Regions from separate parts of the Homo sapiens genome. Here region 1 is linked to region 2. The links are contacts of gene promoters, found by promoter capture Hi-C in human tissues and cell types (Jung and others, 2019). All regions are on one chromosome and are shown on one strand. Each heading gives the region's core, a stretch centred on a gene start or on the middle of the fragment in contact. The rest is flanking DNA. Distances are from core to core; before and after follow the strand shown.

Region 1 (5,075 bases), core at 2,346-4,845, 1.4 Mb after region 2:
TGCAGAGGCTGCATCAACCTTTGCTCTCTGCCATCTGGCTCCTGATTGACTTCAACCAATAGGAGTAAGAGGTGAAGCAGGAGGTCAGCGAGCAGGAGGAGAGAGAGGTGGGGTATTACTCCCCGGCTTCCTCTCTGCTTGGCCATGGGTGACAGCAGCTGGGTCCCTTGGGTGAGAGCTGTGGGCCACCTCCTACAGCTACCGCTCTGGCTGGGTTCCCCTAACTAACAGGGCCTTCCTGGCCCATTTAGGACTGAAGATGGTAACAAGTGCCCCACTGCTGCTGGTCCCAAAGTCCTTTGTTACCTCTTTTCAGTTTCTCTCAACCTGATCCACACCTCCATAAAGAGGGAGGCTGAGGCAAGAGGATCACCTGAGCCTAGGAGGTCGAGGCTGCAGTGAGCCGTGATCGCACCACTGCACTCCAGCCTGGGCAACAGAGTGAGACCCTGTCTCAAAAAAAACAAAAAGAGTCCTTTCATTCTTTCACTAAACTTTCACCAATGACCCCACCCCTTGAGTGTGCTGTCTGTATCCTGCCTGCACGGTAACTGGCAATAAGACCCTCATGCTCTAGCCCCTGCCCAGCTCCCAACCCCCTCACACAACTCTTCCAGCTCCTTTGCTATGCTCTGGCCATACCTGGCTCCTTTCTGTCCCTCAGCTGCACCAAGCCTGTGGCCTCGTTAGTGCCACATATTTTCTGTTCCATCTACCTTGGGACACTGTTCCCAGATCTTTATGCAGCTGGTCTCAGCCCAAATGTCACTCTTCAGGGAGGCTTTCCCTGACCACCTGTCACACACACTCATCCATATCCTTCACTTGACTGATAACCAATCCAGAATTAACCTCTTCAGTTCTTTGTGGGTTTGTTTCTGTTTATACCTATAGCAATGTTGATTCTGGCCAAGCATCATGGTGGCTCACATCTATAATCCCAGTGCTTCGGGAGGCTTAGGCAGAAGGATTGCTTGAGCCCAGGAGTTTGAGACCAGTCTGGGCAATATAGCACAACCCCATCTCTACAACAATACAAAAAAAAAAAAAAAAGATTAGCCAGGCATGGTGGTGTGTGCCTGTAGTCCCAGCTGCATGGGAGGTTGAGGTGGGAGGATTGTTTGAGCCCAGGAGCTGGAGGCTACAGTGAGCTATGATCTCACCACTGTATTCCCAGCCTGGGTAACAGAGTGAGATCTTGTCTTTTGAAAAAAAAAGAGTTACTTACACAAGGGCAGTCTTTTTTTCCACTAGTCTTTTTGTTCACTGCTGTAGTCCTGGCAGTAGTGAACATAAGGGGTCTTGATAAATATTTGTGGAATTAAAAAAAGCTTTATGTTCACTCTGGAGAGAGTGAGGACACTCACTCTGGAACCCCTGAAGGCAGAGGGTGCCCTGGGGTCTCTTTTCCAGGTTATGATCAGGCCTTTCTTGCCTCAAATCTCTCCACATCACCTCTCAGGGTCCACAAATTCTCGCACTTCAGTAACATCCCCAGTTGTGCTTCCTGAGAAGTAGCTGGGTGCTGATGAAAGAGCTTTGGCACAGGGCTCAGACACACCTGGGTTTCACTCCTGGCTCTGCTATGCCCATTGCCTCTCTGGCCCTCAGTTCCGCCATCTATTAAAAAGGAAACCCAAATGGAACCCAACATACTGGGGTCGTGGAAAGGAGCAATGAGACCCAGGCACGTAAGGCAGCCAGCACTGCCCTGCCCCATGCCAGGGATTTGAAGAGCAGCAAAGAGAATGAGATGCTGAAGGGTCCCTGGGAAAGGGTCCCGGGTCTTCCCCACCCAGGCTGAAGCCCAATCAGGAGAGGAAGGTGGACCTGTGAAGGTAGGGGCGGTGCCTAGACTAATGTAGCTGGGAGAGGCTTCCAGAGCTCTCCATGCACAAGCTGGTGTGGAGCAGTGCAGGAGTCCCAGGCGTGTAAGAGCAATGTGGACGTGGTGAAGGACTCAGGAGGGTTCAGAAAAATTCAGTAATTGTCTGGGCGTGGTGGTTCATGCCTGTAATCCCAACATTTTGGGAGGCTGAGGCAGGTGGATCACCTGAGGTCAGGAGTTTGAGACCAGCCTGGCTAATGTGGTGAAACCCCCTCTCCACTAAAAAGACAAAAATTAGCTGGGCATGGTGGCGCATCCCTGTAATCCCGGCTATTCAGGAGGCTGCGGCAGGAGAATCACTTGAACCTGGGAGGTGGAGGTTGCAGTGAGCCGAGATGATGCCACTGCACTCCAGCCTAGGCGATAGAGTGAGACTCCGCCTCAAAAAAAACAAGAAAAAAAAAAAGGAAGAAAAGAAAAAGAAAAGGAAAGAAAAGCTCAGTAACTTCCCAGTGCATCTCATTGAACTTAGCATGGGCACCCACCTGATCTCAATGCACCCAGGAGTTGGCATTCGAGGGCAGCAAGGAGCATCCCTCAGACTTGGATGCAGTTATACACAGCGCCACAGCAGCACGCATGGCCTGACGTCAAAGACTGGCTGAGAATCTCAGAAAATCATGGATGTCCCCTCCCCAACACCCTGACCTCCGCCCCTGCCGAACTTAGGGGTAACCCCAAGGAATGTAAGGAAACCTAAATTGATTGGAAGAATGGACACAAATTAAACATGGTTATGAACTTTGTTAGTCCATTTTGCATTGCTGTAAAGGAATACCTGAGGCTGGGTAATTTATTAAAAGAAAGGAGGTTTATTTGGCTCAAGGTTCTGCAGGCTGTGCAAGCATGGTGCCAGCATCTGCTCAGTTTCTGGTGAGGCCTCAGGAAGCTTTTAATCATGGCAGAGAGGAAGAGGAGCCAACGTGTCACATGATGAGAGGGAGCAAGAGAGACATGGGAGGTCCTAGACTCTATTCTTCCTTTAATTTTTCAACTTTTGTGGGTACATAGTAGTGTATATATTTATGGGGTACATGAGAGATTTTGATACAGGCAGGCAATGCATAATAATCCTATCAAGGTAAACGGGGGATCCATCATTGGAAGCATTTATCCTTTGTGTTACAAACAAGCCAATTACACTCTTTTAGTTATTTATAAATGTGTAATTAAATTATTATTGACCATAGTCACACTGTTGTGCTATCAAATCTATCAAATACTAGGTCTAATTCTCCTTTTTTTTTTTTTTTTTTTTTTTTTTTGAGATGAAGTCTCGCTCTGTTGCCCAGGCTGGAATGCAGTGGCATGACCTCAGCTCACTACAACCTCCTCCTCCCAGGTTCAAGTGATTCTCCTGCATCAGCCTCCTGAGTAGCTGGAGCTACAGGCACCCACCACCACACCTGGCTAATTTTTGTATTTTTAGTGGAGATGGGGTTTCACTATGTTGGCAAGGCTGGTCTTGAATTCCTGACCTCAAGTGATCCACCCGCCTTGGCCTCCCAAAGTGCTGGGATTACAGCCATGAGCCACTGCACCTGGCCCTTATTCATTCTTTCTAACTATTTTTGTACTCATTAGCCTTCCCAACTCCTCCCCGCCACCAACCGGCACCCCCCACTACCCTTCGCAGCCTCTGGTCACCATCTTTCCCAGGCTCTAAATTTTTAACGGCCAGATCTCACATGAATAGAATGAGAACTCACTCATTACCACCAGGAGGGCACCAAGACATTCATGAGGGATCTGCCCCCATTTCCCACTAGGCACCACCTTTAACATTGGGAATCACATTTCAACATGAGATTTGGAGGAGACAAACATCCCAACCATAGTGTGAAGTGAATGAATAAAGAGAGTGATATTTCCCATGCACCTGAGATGTGGACTGACATTTCTACCACATGGTACGTTGCCAGAATCCTCCATTGGGTGTGTGTGTGTCTTGCGACTTGAATGAGCCTGAGAAGCCTTGAGACTTCTTCCTGGGCCTCGGAAGGGCTGTCCTTATCAGGGACAGCTATTCTGCAAGAACTCTGCATGGGGAAGAGTAGAAATGACTGGGGGTGTAAATGTTGTCTGATTAATCACAAGAGAAAGTGCCTCTTAGATGGAGCTGCCCAGTGATGGAAAGGACTACCATGAAAGGAAGCGAGTTTCCTATTCCTGCAGGTATGCAAGTGACACTGTCAGAGGTGTGGAGAAGTAACTCCTACCTGTGGAGTTTGCCTGACTAAAATAACACTGAGGCCCCTCTGAAGCTTTATAGGCTCTGAGTCTTCCAGCAGAGCCCAGAGTGATGTTGGGTAATCAGAGACGGAATTAGCTGAATGCATGGGGAGGGGAGGAGGAAGAGAGAAGGAAGAAGAATAGGAAACAGTAAGGGAGGAGAGTAGGAGAAAGGAAATAAGGGTCCCAACTGAGAAGGCCCAACATTAGTCAAAAGTTTTTCAAAGAAAGGCCGGGCGTGGTGGTTCACGCCTGTAATCTCAGCACTTTGGGAAGCTGAGGCGGGCAAATCACTTGAGGTCAGGAGTTCGAGACCAGCATGGTCAACATGGCAAAACTCCATTTCTACCAAAAATACAAAAGTTAGGCGGGCATGGTGGCGTGCACCTGTAATCCCAGCTACTTGAGAGGCTGAGGCAGGAGAATTGCTTGAACCCAGAGGGCAGAGGTTGCAGTGAGCTGAGATAGCACCACTGCACTCCAGCCTGGGCAAGAGAATGAGACTCCATTTCAAAAAAAAAAAAAAAAAAAAAAGTTTTTCAAAGATAATATTTCCCAAGTGGGGGCCACATGTTCACAACAGTCAGAATAGCTTAAACCAAGCTTGTCCAGCCTGCAGCCTGCAGGCCACATGCAGCCCAGAATGGCTTTGAATGTGGCCCAACACAAATTCAAAAACTTTCATAAAACATTATGAGATTTATGCATGGCGCTTTTTTTTTTTTTTTAGCTTATCAGCCATCATTAGTGTTAGTGTATTTTATGTGTGGCCCAAGACAGTTCTTCCAATGTGGCCCAGGGAAGCCAAAAGATTGGGTGCCCCTGGACTATGCTGCAGTAACAAATTAACCTGAAATCTCAGTGCTTTGGCACAGTAAATGTATTTCTCACTCATGTAGAGTCCAGGTGTCCCTATGGCTGTGATATCTGGAATGCAAGGAGGAGGATGGAATGC
Region 2 (4,631 bases), core at 1,978-4,477:
TTTGACGAATGTCAGTAATGACCACCACACACTGTACTGTCCTTTCCAAAGCCAATTTTGCTGTTTGTTTGTTGATTTTTAAAAATTCCCTTTAGTTATTTGAGTTACTATGAATCCTTCCAGTGATTTTATTTTATAGAAAATAAGCAAACAAAAAACCCTAAAACTTTACCAATATTCCAGAAGGCATTAGACTTGACATTATAAATGTTACAAACAGAACATCTTAGGACAGTGAACTTTAGCTGATACACTGGGATAGTTTTGAAGAAAGAGTACACACATATTTTTCAAGAATAAAGTTTTAATAGGAAAAGGAAGCAGAGCATGGCATAGGCCAATATTTAGATTTGAATAATTATTGGTAGGCACCCCATGTCGGGCAGGGAGCCAGGGATTTTTGCATATTCTAGCTAATTCAATTTAATTCTTTATAAAAACAATTTGAGGTGAGTCTTATCCATAATTTATACATGCAGAAACTGAGGCTGAGGGAGGTAAAATGACCTTTCCAAAAGCCACTTGGCTAGCAAATGACAGCTTTGCTCAAATGCTATCATCTGATACTACGGAGACAGAAGAGAAGGACGCAGTGTGTATGTTTGGACAGCATGCACTGTTTGGTTTGGCAGGACTGCGAGATACACCAAAGGTAGGGGGAATCTTGAGTACCAAGGTAAAGAGGTTGGAGTTTATTAGTTAGGTAGTGAGATAATGGTTTTTTGAGTCGGGGGGACATTGGTAGAGCTAAAAAAACATTGCCTCAGAAACATTGATCTGCTATTGTTTTCTAGGATGAAGGGAAATGAGGCAGAGTGAGGCCAGGAGACCAGTTAGAGGAATTCTGTGGGTGTTGGCAGGGGAGACAGAAAACTATCTTCCATCGAGTCTTCGGATCCATTGGGAATGCCTGGATGACGTCAGAGTTCGCCCTGTGTAGGTAGCTCCCACTTTTCATTGTAGGTTTCTCAAGGACTTGCTCCTAGAAAAAGCGTGGCTCAAAAGTAGATAAAAAATAGGCAACTGCCTAAGTGTGAAATTTACAAAGTTCCTCTCCAAAAAAGCCCGCCTCCTCCCTATCACTTGTGGGCCTGACATTTTACCAAAGGGGCTCTATTCTTTCAAGAGTTTGTTATTAAAGCGTGACTATTTGAGGATTGGAGGCAAAAGGGATACTGAGAAATGTCCTTACTAGCAGTGTCAAGGCAAGTGACATAAATGTGTGGGGGGGCAACTTGTATGAGCACTGTGAAAACGGCAGCATGTTCACTCTACTTCTCAGCTCTGACTGAGGGGCTCAAAGTTCAGGATCTGCTGATTTTTCAACAGTAACGTCCTCTCCAAGGTGTTTTTTTTTTTTCCTTTTTTGGGAAAGCCCCCAGTTTAAACTATTGCAGCCAGTTTACATTTCTTAATGTCACTGTGCTGGCCACATTCAGAGCTCCATTTGCCACCATCGGTTTTGATACCTTTTTACCAAAACCTTTCGAAATTTGAGAGCCCATCTTTAGTAAAACTGGGCATGGAGCAGATTCGTTTGGATTGCTGAGAGGGGAGATAGAAAAGTTTGGGTGCTAGGCAGGAACTGCAAGGAGGACCTGGGCCATATGCCAGACATCTAGTGCCTGGGCCTTGAAAGGGAGACTGGTCGCTGACAAGGCAATATCTGTTGCAACCCAGGCTTCCTAGATGACCACCTTGGATCATGGCTCGGAGCACAGGGAGGGCTGGGCAGTGCTTGTGTTTCTCTCCGTTCCAGTTGGCCCCTTCCCATTGACATTACAGTAATGCAGTTGTGTGCTGTTTGAAAAAGCATCCCTAGTTACACAGAATGATTTACAGGACACCAGACTCTGCATTTCAGAGGTCTCCAGTGTACCATAAAAAATATATTATAAAAGAATAATCTTTATCTGAACTAAAGCTGCAGTGAAGGAAACTCGTGTCCAGCTGAGAGCAGCAGTGAGCTTTTGTTCACTCAGGGAAAAGTCCGTGTTCTTTATCTTATTTGATTAACATTTTTTTTCTCTTTGGCACTAGGTATCTCGTTAATATTTAGACATTATATACATTTTCTTTCAACTGGTTTTCCTATTACGTGATCAAACAAAACCAGAGATGCCAGCCACAGCAGCCAACAAGGGAAAAGCAGCCCCGTCAGGCACCCAGCTGTGGCTGGGGGGCAAATGGTACTCACTAGAGCCACCCCCAGGAGGCACCTGGCAGAGCTCTGTGCAGAGCCAGCCCCGGTTGCAGAAAGCTGAGTTTGTTGGAGTGCCTCAGTTGATCACTCTGTCTCTTTCTCCCATTTCCCTCACTTCCCTGAGCAAAATGCAACAGGAAGCAAAGTCTAGTTGTGAATCTTCCAAAGCCTTCTGATGTTTACCATGTTCCCCCAGGAGAGGGAGGTGAGGGGTGGAGATCTCTCTGCAAAGAAAATACACTTAAAAAATTTCAGCGAGCCGATGCACAGACACCCAGCAACCCAGCTTGTCTCCGCTTATTAGGTGTTCAGAGCGACAGTGGTCCCACACTATTTCAGTCCAGGAAACCATGAACTCCGTTAGTGGCAATGCCCCCGAAGAGGCGCAGGTGTGTGCACCTGTGATTAAGGGTGTCGAGGAGGGGCAGCCTCATCTCTTGAAGCAGAAAGTGTTGTCACCTGGTGATGGGACAGAGGGAAAAGCTCTGGGGCTGGGAAACCTGGGGGCTTGTGTCAAAGCTCCACCCATCAGGAGCTTCAAGAGAAGATGGGGGGCGGGGGGCGGTGGCTGGAAAGATGGAAGTTGGGATGGGAAAGCGGTTGTAGAAAAGGATTCACTCCTGGACCGAAGGCAGGAGGATATCCCGGGCGAGAGAAGGGAGGGTCGGGGATGGGCTGAGTTGGAGTCCCAGAGGAAAAGCGGAAGCGAGAGCTTCGTCACCCGCTGTCTTCCAGCTCCCGGTGCGCGGCACCGGAGGCAGGCGTTGGGCTTTACCTCTCTAAAAGTACTGGGGCAAAGGAATGGAGAACACGGCGTCCCGAGCTCCCAAGGGAGGGGAGTAAACGAGGTGGGGTGGGGAACACCCCAAGTGCGTGCGTGCTGGGGGCTGGGGGGCACGATCTCCGTTCTCCCGGGTGCCCCAGCCCTAGCGCACGCCTCCGCTCCCCCGCCCCCTTCGCAGGCGCGCGCGAGGCGCACCCCCCTTCCCTCGGCGGCGCCGGGCGCGCGCCCGGCCCCCTCCTCCTCCCCTCCGCGCCTCTCCTCTCTCCCGGCAGAAAGTTAGCAGCGGGGAAGGAACTCCGGGCTGCAACAGCGCGCGGCGGCGGCGGCAGAGGCTGAAGCAGAAGCCGCGGCGGAGCCGGGGAAGCGGGGGCGCTGCAGACGGAGCAGGTGCCGCCGGCGGGTCCGCGCGCCCCCCTCGGTCCCCTTGCCTGAGGCTGAGGGGGGGGCGGTGGTGGGGGGGCCACCCGGACTCGGCGGGCAGCGTGGGGCGGGGGGCCATGCGGCCGGGCTCCCCCCTGGCGCAGCGGGACAGCGGCCAGGGCCGGGGGCGCAGCGGCGTCGCTTCATGCAGCCGGGGCGGCTGGGCAGCGGCGGCGGCGGCGGCGGCGGCGGCGGCGGCGGGGGCGGCGGCTGAAACCATGTCCGGGCAGCGCCGGGGGCTGCCGCCGCCGCCGCCGCCGCCGCGAGCCGGGAGCCGCGATGGCCCGGTGGCCCGCACCTCCTCCGCCTCCGCCTCCGCCTCCACCTCTGGCCGCGCCGCCGCCGCCCGGCGCCTCTGCTAAGGGGCCGCCGGCGCGCAAGCTGCTTTTTATGTGCACCTTGTCCCTGTCTGTCACCTACCTGTGCTACAGCCTCCTGGGCGGCTCGGGCTCCCTGCAATTCCCTCTGGCGCTGCAGGAGTCGCCGGGCGCCGCCGCCGAGCCCCCGCCGAGCCCGCCGCCACCCTCTCTGCTGCCTACCCCCGTGCGCCTCGGCGCCCCCTCGCAGCCGCCCGCGCCGCCGCCGCTGGACAACGCGAGCCACGGGGAGCCGCCCGAGCCCCCAGAGCAGCCAGCCGCCCCCGGGACCGACGGCTGGGGGCTGCCGAGCGGCGGCGGAGGCGCCCAGGACGCCTGGCTCCGGACCCCGCTGGCCCCCAGCGAGATGATCACGGCTCAGAGCGCGCTGCCGGAGAGGGAAGCGCAGGAGTCCAGCACCACCGACGAGGATCTCGCAGGCCGGAGAGCGGCCAACGGGAGCAGCGAGAGGGGCGGCGCCGTCAGCACCCCCGACTATGGGGAGAAGAAGCTGCCACAGGCGCTCATCATCGGGGTCAAGAAAGGAGGGACCCGCGCGCTGCTGGAGGCGATCCGCGTGCACCCGGACGTGCGGGCGGTGGGCGTAGAGCCGCACTTCTTCGACAGGAACTACGAAAAGGGGTTGGAGTGGTACAGGTAGGACCCTGGGCTCCGCGGGCTGGTGGAGACGCGTGGGGGAGACGCGGAGGGGAAGCCGCGGCTTTCCACGCCCTTCGAGCATCCAGGCACCGTCCCGAGAGGCCCAAGCCCCCGCGAGGGCTCTGCAAACCCTGGCGGCGTTGCTCAGGGGGATCGGCTGAGAGGGCTGGACTCCAGCGAAAGGTCACTTTATTTCAGGGCGAGGGGA

What was found. The method cuts DNA at HindIII sites, captures the fragments that hold promoters and counts their contacts. A contact is called where the count stands out against the background at its distance.
Region 1: a contact is called between a fragment that was not itself captured here and the fragment with the promoter of HS3ST4 in region 2, in 1 of the 25 tissues and cell types used here (dorsolateral prefrontal cortex).

What each region holds. Positions count from the first base shown.
Region 1 is chr16:27,113,545-27,118,619 of GRCh38, forward strand. No RefSeq gene overlaps it. Among named protein-coding and RNA genes, the nearest start is that of C16orf82, 49 kb to the left of the region's middle. The HindIII fragment of the contact is 3,082 bases long and covers 2,055-5,075 here.
Region 2 is chr16:25,688,732-25,693,362 of GRCh38, forward strand. HS3ST4 (heparan sulfate-glucosamine 3-sulfotransferase 4) reads left to right here and starts at 3,228. Exons shown (of 2, transcript NM_006040.3): 1 at 3,228-4,420. The coding sequence starts at 3,687. RefSeq lists enhancers at 3,972-4,472, 4,473-4,631. The HindIII fragment of the contact is 9,278 bases long and covers 1-4,631 here.